Linked DNA regions of Homo sapiens: all the other regions are linked to region 1. Evidence: promoter capture Hi-C in human tissues and cell types (Jung and others, 2019). All regions are on one chromosome and are shown on one strand. Each heading gives the region's core, a stretch centred on a gene start or on the middle of the fragment in contact. The rest is flanking DNA. Distances are from core to core; before and after follow the strand shown. Region 1 holds the start of SHH (sonic hedgehog signaling molecule). Region 2 overlaps LOC285889 (a long non-coding RNA gene). Region 3 overlaps RNF32-DT (RNF32 divergent transcript).

Region 1 (4,280 bases), core at 33-2,532:
CGTAAATAACCCTCACTCTCTAATCCTATGCTAGAGGAATCATTGCACATGAGTGGGATGGCGATTGAGAAGGGGAAGGGCATGATCTGTTTTTTTTTTTTTAAAAAAAAAAAGAAAAGCAGGGTTGAGAGGGAGCTTCAAATTTTATTTTCCTGGTTTACTTAGGACTTTTGAGTTTTTTTCCTTTTTCTGCAAAAAGTGAGGTGATTATAGACTCAAAGATTGCCACCTCCTGGGCACTGTGCCCTCTTTCTAGGAAGCCCCTCGTTAACCAGAACACTGTTCCCCCAGGGCCCCTGACCCCTTGGGCTGCAGCCCCTAGGACTGGTGGCTCCTGTGCCTGAAGACTGCTGGCCTGCTGAGCCCCCACACAAGGCCAGCTTTGCAAGGAGCCTGAATTCCACATTCAGCTCACCCCTGGCTCTGCACTTTGCTCTGATCGATCGTGGGGGTTGTGTGAGCACAGCTTCGCCCACTCGCCTGCCCCCCCCCCAACACCCTGCAATGGCCTCCACACACCCAGCGCACACACTGGCCCCCACTCTCTCCCCTGTGCTGGGGTGCAGCCCCCAGACCTGCTTTGCCCATCCACCCTGACGCCCGCAGTTCACTCTGTAACTGCCCTTGAGCACGCCTCCATCCCATTTGCAGAGCTCTACAAAAAAAAAAATGTATTAATTGAAGCACAATAAAAGAGCAGTATTTTTACATTTTTCTAAGGCACTTAAAGCATTTCAAATACCAGTGCTTTAAGTTATGGTCACTCATAATTATCCTCGGTCCACAGAGGCTGAGTCTTCAGGAGGGGCTCAGTCCTCTTTCTTCAAAATGCAGGGAGAGCCAGCCTGCACTATAAAGTCCCTGGGGAAGAAAAATTAAATAACAGCTGGGCAGCTGTGCCCCTCAAATGTGTGAGCGACTCTGTGCTTGATGACTGAAGCTTGCGGGGGTTTAAACTGTCCTTTAAAAACTTAAGTTGGTTTTAACTGAAGCACCTACCATTCCAGGGAAAGTCAGGGGGAAACGCAAGGATGTACACAAAGCCGGGAGTAACTGCTGTTACCACAAGACATGCGCTCCTCCCTCCCGCCCACCTTTATCTTAGGAAAGATTTTTTTTTTTTTAACTCGAATCCTTCAGGTGAAAATAAAGCAACAGCAGCAACAGAAAAAAAAAACGTAGTCTTCTTCAGGGTTAACATCAGAAGACAAGCTTGTGCGGCTTTGGCCAATCAGATGCGCCCCTGGCAGCTATAATATAGTGCTAAAGGCAGCCTCTCTCACAAGCTCTCCAGGCTTGCTACCATTTAAAATCAGACTCTTTTTGTCTTTTGATTGCTGTCTCGCGACCCAACTCCGATGTGTTCCGTTATCAGCGGCCGGCAGCCTGCCATTCCAGCCCCTGTCTGGGTGGGGAGCGGTGGAGAGTCCCCCGCAGCCGCGGCGGGCAAGGTTATATAGGAAGAGAAAGAGCGAGGCAGCCAGCGAGGGAGAGAGCGAGCGGGCGAGCCGGAGCGAGGAAGGGAAAGCGCAAGAGAGAGCGCACACGCACACACCCGCCGCGCGCACTCGCGCACGGACCCGCACGGGGACAGCTCGGAAGTCATCAGTTCCATGGGCGAGATGCTGCTGCTGGCGAGATGTCTGCTGCTAGTCCTCGTCTCCTCGCTGCTGGTATGCTCGGGACTGGCGTGCGGACCGGGCAGGGGGTTCGGGAAGAGGAGGCACCCCAAAAAGCTGACCCCTTTAGCCTACAAGCAGTTTATCCCCAATGTGGCCGAGAAGACCCTAGGCGCCAGCGGAAGGTATGAAGGGAAGATCTCCAGAAACTCCGAGCGATTTAAGGAACTCACCCCCAATTACAACCCCGACATCATATTTAAGGATGAAGAAAACACCGGAGCGGACAGGCTGATGACTCAGGTAGGAACCCAGCGCCGGGGCGTGGAATGTGTGGCTTTCCAGGGGGTTACGAGAAGCCGAACACTTCCAGACTTAACTCTGTTTGCTCTTCGGGCAGATAGGAAGGTGATTTCACCCGCTCCTTCCCCACCCACCTGCCCGCCCCCCATCTCTTCCTCTTCCTGGAGGAGAATGGAGGTCAAGGGTCCAGCTGGAGAAGTTTAGGGTGTGGTGGGGGTGAGGACGGTAACAGACGTGGTTCATTATGGCCCTGATTTGATGAGTCTTGCTACAATGGCCTTCCCCATCCTACCTCTGCCCTGGCTTGTAACTTGGGGAGACCTTCACTTTGGGGGCGTCGGCCCTTTCCAAGTCAGGAGTGGAAATGGAAGGAGAGGCTGGGAATCCCCCTCCCACAAACATGAAGTGGTCTCCTGGTACTGTACGAACGAACGAACGTAGCCTTGGGCATTGGAGCTCAGAGCCCCCACGTTTCCCGTTGCCTCTGTGGTTTTCTTTCCCACCACTACCCCCACCCTGCACCTCCCCACCAAAGAATTCTCAACTGGAAAAGCCAGGAGGCGGTTCTGACAAAAGGCAGGGGCTCCAGGGGAGACTCCGCCCGTCCCTGGGTGGCTGGCTGTATCGCAGAGCTGGCTTTGCGATTGCGTGTCCGCAATTGTGCCCATCAGAGTGTGAATGTATTGATATTTCTTTAAGGATGCTCTTTCGTTCTTCCAAGCCCGAGGTACCTTAGGGGAGGGACTTAGAACTTATTGGCATTGCATCACTTTAGTTTTCAACCTGCTTGCATAAGAATTAAGAGCGAATAAATATTAGTGTGGGGGGAGGGGAAGCTAAGCAAAATATGAATTCCTCTCTCTCTCCCCACCTCCTTTGAGATTTCTGAGCTGCCAATCTCCCAGCCAATTCTAGACTTTCTGAAACTCCATGCACGTATAACTGAAGCCAGAAATGGGTTTCCTTGCAAATATAGGTCAACATCCTTTTTATTGCCCTATTAAAATATTCAAGTCCTACCTTTAGGGCTAGGTGCGTACAGCGGCTGATGGAGTGGCGCTGGTGGGGCGCAAGTGCAGGGGGAGGGTACTGACGGCAGAGAGAGAGGAGCTACCTCCGTGCCGCCCTGCTTCCCGACCCGATTCCCAGGCTTGCTTGAGGCCGAGAAAGGCGAGGGGCAGGCAAGGTAGCCTGCTCCAGCTGTCGGAAGGGAGAGGAATGGGAAATGGTCCTGATTTCCTTGCTCTCCCTCATCTGCTCCCGACCACCTTAAATCTGGACCGCGAGTGTGGACGCGCGCGCCAGTGCCAGACAGCAGCGCGATCCACAATTAACTCTGCACGGGCCATGGGGTGCCCGTTGCGTGCAGCTGGCTGGAGGGAGTTCTCCGGCTAGCCCGAGGCGCCCATCCTCTCGTCACCCTCACTCCCCGCGGAGGAGGGGCCTTGCCAGGGTCCCTCGGAACCCGAGAGGAGGGAGGCACTGCGGAGAGAGCGGCGGGGGCGTGGATACCCGAGGTCCCAGAGCCAGAGTGGGTCAGCTTCTGCCCTGCTCTGCGGGAGGCCAATACCGCAGAAGGGGTCCTGGGCTCGCACACCTTCCCAGGGCTTGGGCCTTGCAGCCCTGCTGCAAAGCTGCAAGCGCACAGAGCCGCGCAGCGAGGCAGACGCCTGCAGCCCCACTTACTCCCGGGTTATCGATCCCCCGCGGCTAGGGTTTCAGTGCGCGAGGGGCTGGGCTGGAGCCGCCGGGCTCTGCTGCTCCACGCGCGGGAGCGCAGGCACCGCAGGAGCTAACAGCAGCGCCGGGCTCGCTGTAGTGTCCCCGGCGGCGGGGGCGCGGAGATGGGGGCGCCCGCGCAGGGGCCGGGGCGCATCGCGGGCTCCGCCGGCCTGCCCTGGGACGCGCCCCCATCCCCAGTCCGCCGCCTGCCTGGCCTCTAGGCCTCCGCGTCCCAGCCGGAGCCCCCAGCCCGGGGGCCTCCCCCCGACCCCCGTCCGCCCTGCCGGGGGACGCAGGGCCCAGCGGCCCCGCGCCCGGCCACTCTCGCCGCCGCGCGCACAGGCAGCATTTGAACTTCTGACCTTCTGTCAACTTCCCTCAGACGAACGAAACGAAAACAAATACTTTTTTCCTTGGGCAGTGGCTATTCCCGTTCCCAACACAAAAGGAGGGGGAAGGACGGCCCAAGTGGGGGTTGGGTGAGGAGAGCCAGGCCGGGATTATCAGGCAGACCCCACAAAGGTCCCCTAAAACCGAGGGGGGTAGGGGCTGGCAGTCTGTGAGGTATCCCCGGTTGATCCCTCCCCTACCTTCCTTCTCCCGATTCCAGGAGTTAAGGGTGGGGGAGGAAGGGAT
Region 2 (4,873 bases), core at 1,076-3,575, 630 kb before region 1:
CCATCATCACAGGGTACGAAGGGAGGACAAGTGCAGTGTCGTGAGCATGTACAGAGGGAAGTTGACAGCGGGGAGAGGCTTTGCTGAGGAAGTGGCGTTTGGAAGAACGAGAATGAGGTAAGTGAGGGGGGTGAAGAGCAATGGGGGCAGTTTGTGCAAAAGCCGGAGGTGCAAGGATGCTGCCGAGCTGGCGGAAGGAGGCCAGAGGGACTGCTCACGGCCTTGGGGGATGGGAGGTGAGGTCGATGGGGGCTTATGATGAAGCAGGAGAATGGGTCTGGAATCGCTTTGGAGGGTCACGGAGAGCCATGGGAGGGTTTTGGGTGCAGGAGTGACCCAGTCAGATCAGTGGCAGATCAGACACTCTGGCTGTCGTGTGGGAATGGGCTGCAGAGAGTGTGGTCCATCCTACACAACCAGGACCTACTGCCGGGGGGGCAGGTGAGAAGCGGCGGTGTCTCGGATGGGGGTGGGAGAAGGGCCGAGGCAAATGTGTGGAGTGTGGAAAAAGCACAGGCACAGGGGAAAGCCCGATGGGACGTTGGTAGCAGCTTGCGTTTGATTTTGGGGATGAAATGGAAAGTGTGTCAAGGAGTGTGCCCTGGTTTTTGGTGTGTGTAGCTGGTGGCGCTGAGACAGGGACCCTCAAGGAGGCCGGGGTGCAGGGGAATCGCCGCCTGGGTGTAGAGCCTTCAGGACCCGTGGAGGGGCTGGCAGCTGGACCTGCCGGTCTAGAAGGGAGGGCTGTTGCGACCTCAGCTTGGGCTTGGGAGGCATCAGCGTCGATTTCCTCACTGACTTTTCCACTGGGCAAGTGCCAGGGGCCTTTAAGGATCTCATCGTTTAGTCAGTAATGATTTTTGAACATGAAATAATTAGGCAGAAATGTGACCAAACAAGCCTGCTATCACATAGGCCGTGTGGAAAACAGCTGTTAGGGGAAGCCAGGAGAGGAGGATGCACTGTGAGCCAGGGGTTCGACGGCCTCCTTCCTGGGCATCTAAGGGACCTGGTGCCCCATCTGAGCCAGCCCGTTCTCCTTCCCTCTTCCCTAACTCTGGCGGGGCCAGAGTGGAGGTGTCCATACAGGGCCCCCTCTTCTTTCGTCTTCTAGGCCAGGCACCAAGCCCACACTCCATCCATTCCCAGGGAGCAGCCGTGGGCACAGGAGTGACTGCAGAAGTGAGTCAGATTGGAGCCATGTGAGGTCTACACCCAGGTGGCCAGGCATGGGCTGAGAGTCCAGGGCCAGAGAAGGAAGGGGCATAAGTGAGGACAAGCAAGTAGGTGCCCAGCACCCCGACACGCAGTTGGCTCGGCACCCCAACATGCAGGTGCTCAGCACCTCAAGACACAGATGGCTCAGCACCCCGACACACAGGTCTCTCAGCACCCCAACATGCAGGTCACTCAGCACCCCAACATGCAGGTGGCTCAGCACCCCAACACGCAGGTGGCTTGGCACCCTGACATGCAGGTGGCTCAGCACCCAGACACGCAGGTGGCTTGGCACGCCAACACACAGGTGCTCAGCACCCCGACATGCAGGTGGCTCAGCACCCAGACACGCAGGTGGCTTGGCACCCCTACATGGAGGTGCTCAGCACCCTAAAACGCAGATTGGAATGAGAAACCCTTTCCTGTTAGGGGAAACCTGGAGAAGCCAGTGAAGGACACTGACCAGCGAACAGCTTCTCACATGCTTTCTTCACCTGGTGGCTGGAAGTCCCTGGGAAGCTCAGACGGAGTAAGTGGATGGAGCTGAGCGGACCCAGGAGGCTGGAGGTGGGAGCAGATGCGGGAAGCACTACTTCTCCTCTCTCTGGGACTCTTAATTATCTGCACAGGGAGTTTCCATCTTGTTAAAAGTGCCACTGTCTGCCAGTCAGTGACTCCTCAAGAAATCTATGAAAGTGTCACTGCAAAGAGGCAACTTCCACAGGGACCAACGGATGTGACGGGGTAGATGTGGTCACAGAGCAAGTGTGGATAGAATCTCTATAATGGACTCACACAGACTTGGTCTTTCCAGAGGTGGCCTGATAGTCATTCCCGACCAATCTCTCAGCAGTGGCTCCTCTGAACTGTACATTTCTGTGCCTTATCCGTCTCTGCTGAGTGTGGTCAAGAAGGCACCACTTTATTTTTTAATTTTTCTTTTGTTTTTTTTTTGAGACAGTGTCCCACTCTGTCACCCAGGCTGGAGTGCAGTGGCATGATCTCAGCTCATGCAGCCTCTGCCTCCCAGGCTCAAGCAATCCTCCCACCTCAGCCTCTTGAGTTGCTGGGACTACAGGTGCACACCACTATGCTTGGCTGATTTTTGTATTTGTTTATTTTATTTTTTTTAGATGGGGTTTTGCCGTGTTACCCAGGCTAGTCACGAACTCCTGTGCTCAAGCGATCTGTCTGCCTCGGCCTCCAAAGTGCTGGGATTGCAGGCATGAGCCACCGCGCCCAGCCAGAAAGCCACTGCTTTATAGACCACCACTTAAATGCACCTGGCAGCTTCATGTACGCAAGAACTTTCCTGCAGCTCCTTTAAATTTAAGAATCTTTTGGCAAAATGAAGAATACAAGCGTGTTTCTTCTTCATATGCTTTGTTTTAGGAACATTAAAAAAATATAGTTACTACAATCAGAAAGCAGTTATATTTGTATGTTTTGTAACAAATACTGTGGCCTGATAGAATGAGCTTCTGACAAAGGCATGTGCTTTCCAAGTGGGCCAAGTTCAAAAGTTGTCCGCTGAGTTGTCTCACTGGCTCATCCAGCCAATCATTCAAATATTTAAAGGCCCCACTAAGGGCCATGTTACTCATTGTACATCTTTAAGGATGGGTGTAACTTACTTATCTGTTTATTTTCAATTTCAGAATACTTTATATTGACTCCTAAAAGTATGGTGTAGTGTATGTTTGTTTTGGGAGTTTCAATACAATCCCTAAATTTATGTATCTCAAATGTACAGGGACTGATCAAATTAGTGCTAATTTTCCTAAAACAGTGTCAAAAACAAGGGAATCAATCATGAACACACTAAGCATGAGCATCGACTGTCACAAGACATGGCTCAGTTTATTTTTTCTTCCTTCTTACTACACCGTAGAACAGAGCTCTTTTGTTTGCTTATGACCTGGGCAAATATGCTGTATGATAAAAAAAAATCATGTATGCATTTGATTCTCATCCAGATGCCCTTAGGATAAGAGGTTCATTTTCATCTTCTGTTTTCCAAATGAAGCTTTAAATCTAATTAGATCTTGAAAGAAAATAACTGCAATAGGGTTTCTGTAAGTAAAGGGCCCTCATTTAAATAATGCTGTTATTTGTTTATGTGATTTACAGTAAGTGATGAAACTCTTCGTGGCCAGCACGCCGCTCACTTCGGGGATCCTTTGCACAGAGCACTTTGAGTTAGTTATAAACCATTCTACACACAGAAGCATTTAATTGTTAGAACATTTCATAGTGTAACAGCATTTCTCATTGCCTAGCATGGGCCTTCTCCATATCGAAGGCCCAATAAATATTTGTAGAATAAAGGAATTCACACCCATCCATTGCCCAGATCATAATTGAGCGGCTCTTCTATTAAAGTTTAGCCTTTTCATGTTAATTTAAAGTGGGGAATTTGAAGGGAGAAATGCGAATTTCAGACTCTAAAAAAGACAAGTCCCGTATAGAACGAGGTCCCAGAGACTCTAAGACGTCTGTGTTGATAGACGTAGGGCTGCAGGAATTGAGAAGTGGTTGACGAGGGAGAGTCTGTTTCAGACCTGCTGTTTGCAGGTTGTATTTGTTCCACAGCTGTTTTTGAAGGATGTTTCTACTCTTAATGGAATCAGGTACTTCACTAAGAGGCCCAAAGGTAAACCTTAGGCTGGATTTATGGCTCAATCCAGCATCCTAAAAGAAAATGTCTGCCTAGGCATTTTTTTTTCCATAAAAATATATACCCTCATCATCATAAATTCAGATTTCCATGGTATTTGCCTTGTGGTAGAACCCAAATGTTAGGGCAGTCTTACCAGGGACAGGACTAATGCAGAAGCAGCTGGCTCTGCTGGCCCTGGCTGAACCGCGATGTGGATGGGGCACCCTGTGAAGTGCTCTGAGTTCCTGGTTCAAGGTTAGGGAGATGGTGAAAAAGGCTGAGCACCTGTCAGTGCATTAAAACCATCGACCATCCCCGAACGGCTTTGGAATGAAGGCTTCCTACTCCTTAGGAATTCTGCCCTTGCTTCATTTCATTTTAATTTTTTCTCCCACTTGGTGAACCCAATGACACTCGCCCAGTGGACTCACGCTCTGAGGGGATTTGTAAATATTTGACAGAGTTGAATTGAAGATCAAAAATAAAACCTAGCACTGCTCTCCGATTTTCTCTGTGCTCCTTGCCTTCGGGGGATAGCATGATAATTAGGACAAAGGGATATTTGAGATTATGCCTTAAATAAACTGGGGCAGAACTTCTTTAAGCTTCACCAACTATTTTTATCTCTGAGGCAGAAAACACCAATTTCAGTGCTCAGCTTAACTTGACTTTGACACCATGTAAGAAAAATAAAGATGGGAGATGTTCGGCTCTGGGGGCCTCCAGGCCCAGTCAGAGGAAAGGACTTAAGTGTTGCCCCCAGCTCTGGGACACAAAACAGGAGCTGGGAGAACGAGGCGGGCTACGTTCTGATCTTGGCTTGGGCCACCCAAACTCAAGAGATTCTTACCCTATCTGCTCAAAATTGAATGATTGGGACGAATGCAGTGGAAAGAACTGGCTGGGAATTAAAAAGCCCCGGCTTACGGCTTCAGATCTGCTAGAATTTGCCGGCAACCTGAAGGAAAGCTCTCTCTCTTTCAGGCCTCAGTCTCG
Region 3 (4,307 bases), core at 1,681-4,180, 790 kb before region 1:
CTTCTGGGCACACAGCGAGGCTCCGTTTCCCAGGGCCCCTTTCAGCTAGGTGAGGCCACCTGAGTCCTCACCAGTGGGGTCTGAGAGGGAGTGATGTGGGCTGCTGCTGGCCTGGCCAGGGACACTTCTCTTGGGCAATCTTTTTTTTTAAAAAATGGTATAAATGTGTGGTGTACAGGTGCAGTGTTGGTACATGCATATATTGCATAGTGGTGAAGACTGGGCTGTTAGTGGAACCATCATCCAAATAGTGTACAAAGAAGCCATTAAGTCGTGTTTAAATCATCCACCTCCCTCCTGCCCCCGCCCTTCCGAGGCTCCAGTGTCTATCATTGCACTCTCGCTACCACGTGGACACTTTCTCTAGTTCCCACATATGAGTGAGAACATGTGGTATTTGGCCTCTGAGTTGTTTTCCTTAAGATAATGACCTCCATATATATACACCGCATTGTCTAATCCTCTCCTCTGTTGATGGATACTTAGGTTCACTCCACGTCTTTGCTATTGTGAATAATGCTGCTGTAAACATACGAGTGCAGGTAACTTTTTGATATGGTTTCTTTTCCTTTGGATCGACGCTCAGTAGTGGGATCACTGGATTGAATGGTGGTTCTACTTTTAGTTCTTGGAGAAATCTCCATGCTGTTTTCGTTTTGTTTTTTGAGACAGAGTCTTGCCCTGTTGCCCAGGCTGGAGTGCAATGGCATGATCTCGGCTCACTGCAACCTCCACCTCCCAGGGTCAAGCAATTTTCATGCCTCAGCCTCCCAAGTAGCTGGGATTATAGGCGTGTGCCACCACGCCTGGCTAATTTTTGCATTTTTAGTGGAAATGGGATTTCACCACGTTGGCCAGGCTGGCCTCAAACTCCTGGGCTCAAGCGATCCTCCCACCTCGGCCTCCAAAATTTCTGGGATCACAGGCATGAGCCACCGCGCCCAGCCTCCATACTGTTTTCCATAGAGGCTGCACTAATTTACATCCTCACCAACAGTGTATAAGTGTTCTCTTTTTTCCATATCCTTGCCAACATTTGTTATTTTTGTCTTTTAAGCAACAGCCATTCTGACTGGTATAAGATGGTATCTAATTGTGATTTTAATTTACATTTCTCTGATTAGTGATGAGCATTTTTTCATATGCTAGTTGGCCATTTGTATAACTTCTTTTGAAAAATGCCTATTTTTGTCCTTTGCTCACTTTTATTTTATTTTATTATTATTATACTTTAAGTTTTAGGGTACATGTGTACAATGTGCAGGTTAGTTACATATGTATACATGTGCCATGCTGGTGTGCTGCACCCATTAACTCGTCATTTAGCATTAGGTATATCTCCTAAAGCTATCCCTCCCCCCTACCCACACCCCACAACAGTCCCCAGAGTGTGATGTTCCCCTTGCTGTGTCCATGTGTTCTCATTGTTCAATTCCCACCTATGAGTGAGAATATGTGGTGTTTGGTTTTTTGTTCTTGCGATAGTTTGCTGAGAATGATGATTTCCAATTTCATCCGTGTCCCTACAAAGGACATGAACTCATCATTTCTTATGGCTGCATAGTATTCCATGGTGTATATGTGCCACATTTTCTTAATCCAGTCTATCATTGTTGGACATTTGGGTTGGTTCCAAGTCTTTACTATTGTGAATAGTGCCACAATAAACATACATGTGCATGTGTCTTTATAGCAGCATGATTTATAGTCCTTTGGGTATATACCCAGTAATGGGATGGCTGGGTCAAATGGTGTTTCTAGTTCTAGATCCCTGAGGAATCGCCACAGACTTTCACAAGGGTTAAACTAGTTTACAGTCCCACCAACAGTGTAAAAGTGTTCCTATTTCTCTACATCCTCTCCAGCACCTGTTGTTTCCTGACTTTTTAATGATCGCCATTCTAACTGGTGTGAGATGGTATCTCATTGTGGTTTTGATTTGCATTTCTCTGATGGCCAGTGATGGTGCCTTTGCTCACTTTTTTAATGGGCTTATTTTTGTTGTTGTTGTTGAGTTGTTTGAATTCCTTGTAAATTCTGGATATCAGTCCCTGGTTGGATGCATTGTTTGCAAATATTTTCTACCATTCTGCAGGTTATCTCTTTACTCTGTTGACGATTTCTTTTGCTGTACAGAAGCTTTTTAGTTTAATTAAGTCCCATTTGTCTATTTTTGCTTTAGTTGTTTCTGCATTTGAGATCTTAGGCATGAATTCTTTTCCTAGACCAATGTGTAGAAGAGTTTTCCCTGGGTTTTCTTCTAGTATTTTTAGTTTCAGGTCTTACATGTAAGTCTTTAATCCATCTTGAGTTGACTTTTTTTGTTGTTGTTTTTGTTTTGAGGCAGCTGTCTCAGCTCACTGCAACCTCGGCCTCCCAAGTTCAAATGATTCTCCTGCCTCTGCATCCCGAGTAGCTGGGATTACAGGTGCCTACCACCATGCCTGGCTAAGTTTTGTATTTTTTTTTAGTAGAGATGGGGTTTCACTGTATTGGCCAGGCTGGTCTCAAACTCCTGACCTCAAGTGATCCGCCTGCCTCCACCTCCCAAAGTGCTGGGGTTACAAGTGTGAGGCACCATGCCTGGCTTTGAGTTGATTTTTGTATGTCGTGAGAGATAGGGGTCCAGTTTCTTTTTTCTGCATATGACAATCCGATTTTCCCAGCACCATTTATTGAAAAGAGTATTCTTTCCCCAGTGTATGTTTTTGTTGCCTTTGTGAATAGTTGGCTATAGATGTACAGCTTTATTTCTGAGTTCTCTATTCTGTTCCATTGATCTATGTGTCTGTTTTTGTACCAGTACCATGCTGTTTTGGTAACTATAGCCTTGTAGTATAATTTGAAGTCAGGTAATGTAATGCCTCCAGCTTTGTTCTTTTTGCTTAGGATTGCTTTGGCTGTTCATGTTCTTTGGTGGTTCTATATAACTTTTAGGATTTTTTTTTCTAAGTCTGTGAAAAATGACATTGGTATTTTGATAGAGATTATAATGAATCTGTAGATTGCTTGGGCAGTATGGTTTTTTTAACAATATTAATCTTAACATCCATGAGCATGGGATGTTTTTCCATTTGTTTGTGTCATCTGCAATTTCTTTCATCAGTGTTTGGTAGTTTTCCTTGTAGCAATCTTTCACCTCCTTGGTTAAATATATTCCTAGGTATTCTGTTTTATTTGTAGCTATTGTAAATGGGATTGTCTTGGGCAATCCTTTTACTCTTTCCCAGTTTCCAGGTAGATGTTGACCCCCTGGGAAACCTTAGAAGCCACACATTGATGATGGCAGAGCCTCCATTAGCTTGAGTCTTGAAATAACAGTGTGTGGGGTAGCTCTCCCCAACCCACCCCTCCATTGCCAGTCATGGGGCATAGCACCCCCCTAGCTTGCCCCTCAATTGCCAGCCATGGGGCATAGCACCCCCTAACTCACCCCTCAATTGCCAGCCATGGGGCATAGCACCCCCTAGCTTGCCCCTCAATTGCCAGCCATGGGGCATAGCACCCCCTAGCTTGCCCCTCAATTGCCAGCCATGGGGCATAGCACCCCCTAACTCGCCCCTCAATTGCCAGCCATGGGGCATAGCACCCCCTAGCTTGCCCCTCAATTGCCAGCCATGGGGCATAGCACCCCCTAACTCGCCCCTCAATTGCCAGCCATGGGGCATAGCACCCCCTAGCTTGCCCCTCAATTGCCAGCCATGGGGCATAGCACCCCCTAGCTTGCCCCTCAATTGCCAGCCATGGGGCATAGCACCCCCTAGCTTGCCCCTCAATTGCCAGCCATGGGGCATAGCACCCCCTAACTCGCCCCTCAATTGCCAGCCATGGGGCATAGCACCCCCTAGCTTGCCCCTCAATTGCCAGCCATGGGGCATAGTGCCCTGGAACCCACCCCTCAATTGCCAGTCATGACAGAATATCCACATTGGAATTGTGGTTTGAGAGAAAAATAAAAATTTTGTCTTGTTAAGCTGTTTAAATTTTGAGGATTATTTGTTACAGGTGCCAATATTTTCCTACCTAAAAGAGGATTCCTTATTAAAGGCTGTGGCACCACCATCCCTCAATCCCTGAACCAGAAAACGAAGGCAACAACTTTAATATTTCTTTATCCTCATTTCCAGACCAATTCCAAAGCCTGATTTTTTTTTTAAACTTTTAACTTTGAGATGATTTAGACTTAAAGAGTTGCAAAATACTGCAGTTACCAATATACCCTTCCCTCAACTTCCTCCAGTATTAATATCTTATATAACCATCATATAGTAATCAAAACTAAGAAATTAATATCGATAAATACTATT

Evidence for each region. Contacts are between HindIII fragments. The study calls those that stand out against the background at their distance.
Region 2: a fragment that was not itself captured here is called in contact with the fragment with the promoter of SHH in region 1 in 3 of the 25 tissues and cell types used here (hippocampus, lymphoblastoid cells and thymus).
Region 3: a contact is called between a fragment that was not itself captured here and the fragment with the promoter of SHH in region 1, in 1 of the 25 tissues and cell types used here (dorsolateral prefrontal cortex).

The regions. Positions count from the first base shown.
Region 1 is chr7:155,809,465-155,813,744 of GRCh38, reverse strand. It overlaps SHH (sonic hedgehog signaling molecule), which reads left to right and starts at 1,282. Exons shown (of 3, transcript NM_000193.4): 1 at 1,282-1,922. The coding sequence starts at 1,623. The HindIII fragment of the contact is 7,668 bases long and covers 1-4,280 here.
Region 2 is chr7:156,436,474-156,441,346 of GRCh38, reverse strand. It overlaps LOC285889 (a long non-coding RNA gene), which reads left to right. Exons shown (of 3, transcript NR_038232.1): 2 at 1-117; 3 at 2,352-3,558. Among named protein-coding and RNA genes, the nearest start is that of LINC00244, 100 kb to the left of the region's middle. RefSeq lists an enhancer at 217-1,091. The HindIII fragment of the contact is 7,433 bases long and covers 1-4,873 here.
Region 3 is chr7:156,596,755-156,601,061 of GRCh38, reverse strand. The region is part of intron 2 of RNF32-DT (RNF32 divergent transcript); the gene reads left to right. Among named protein-coding and RNA genes, the nearest start is that of RNF32-DT, 42 kb to the left of the region's middle. The HindIII fragment of the contact is 5,421 bases long and covers 220-4,307 here.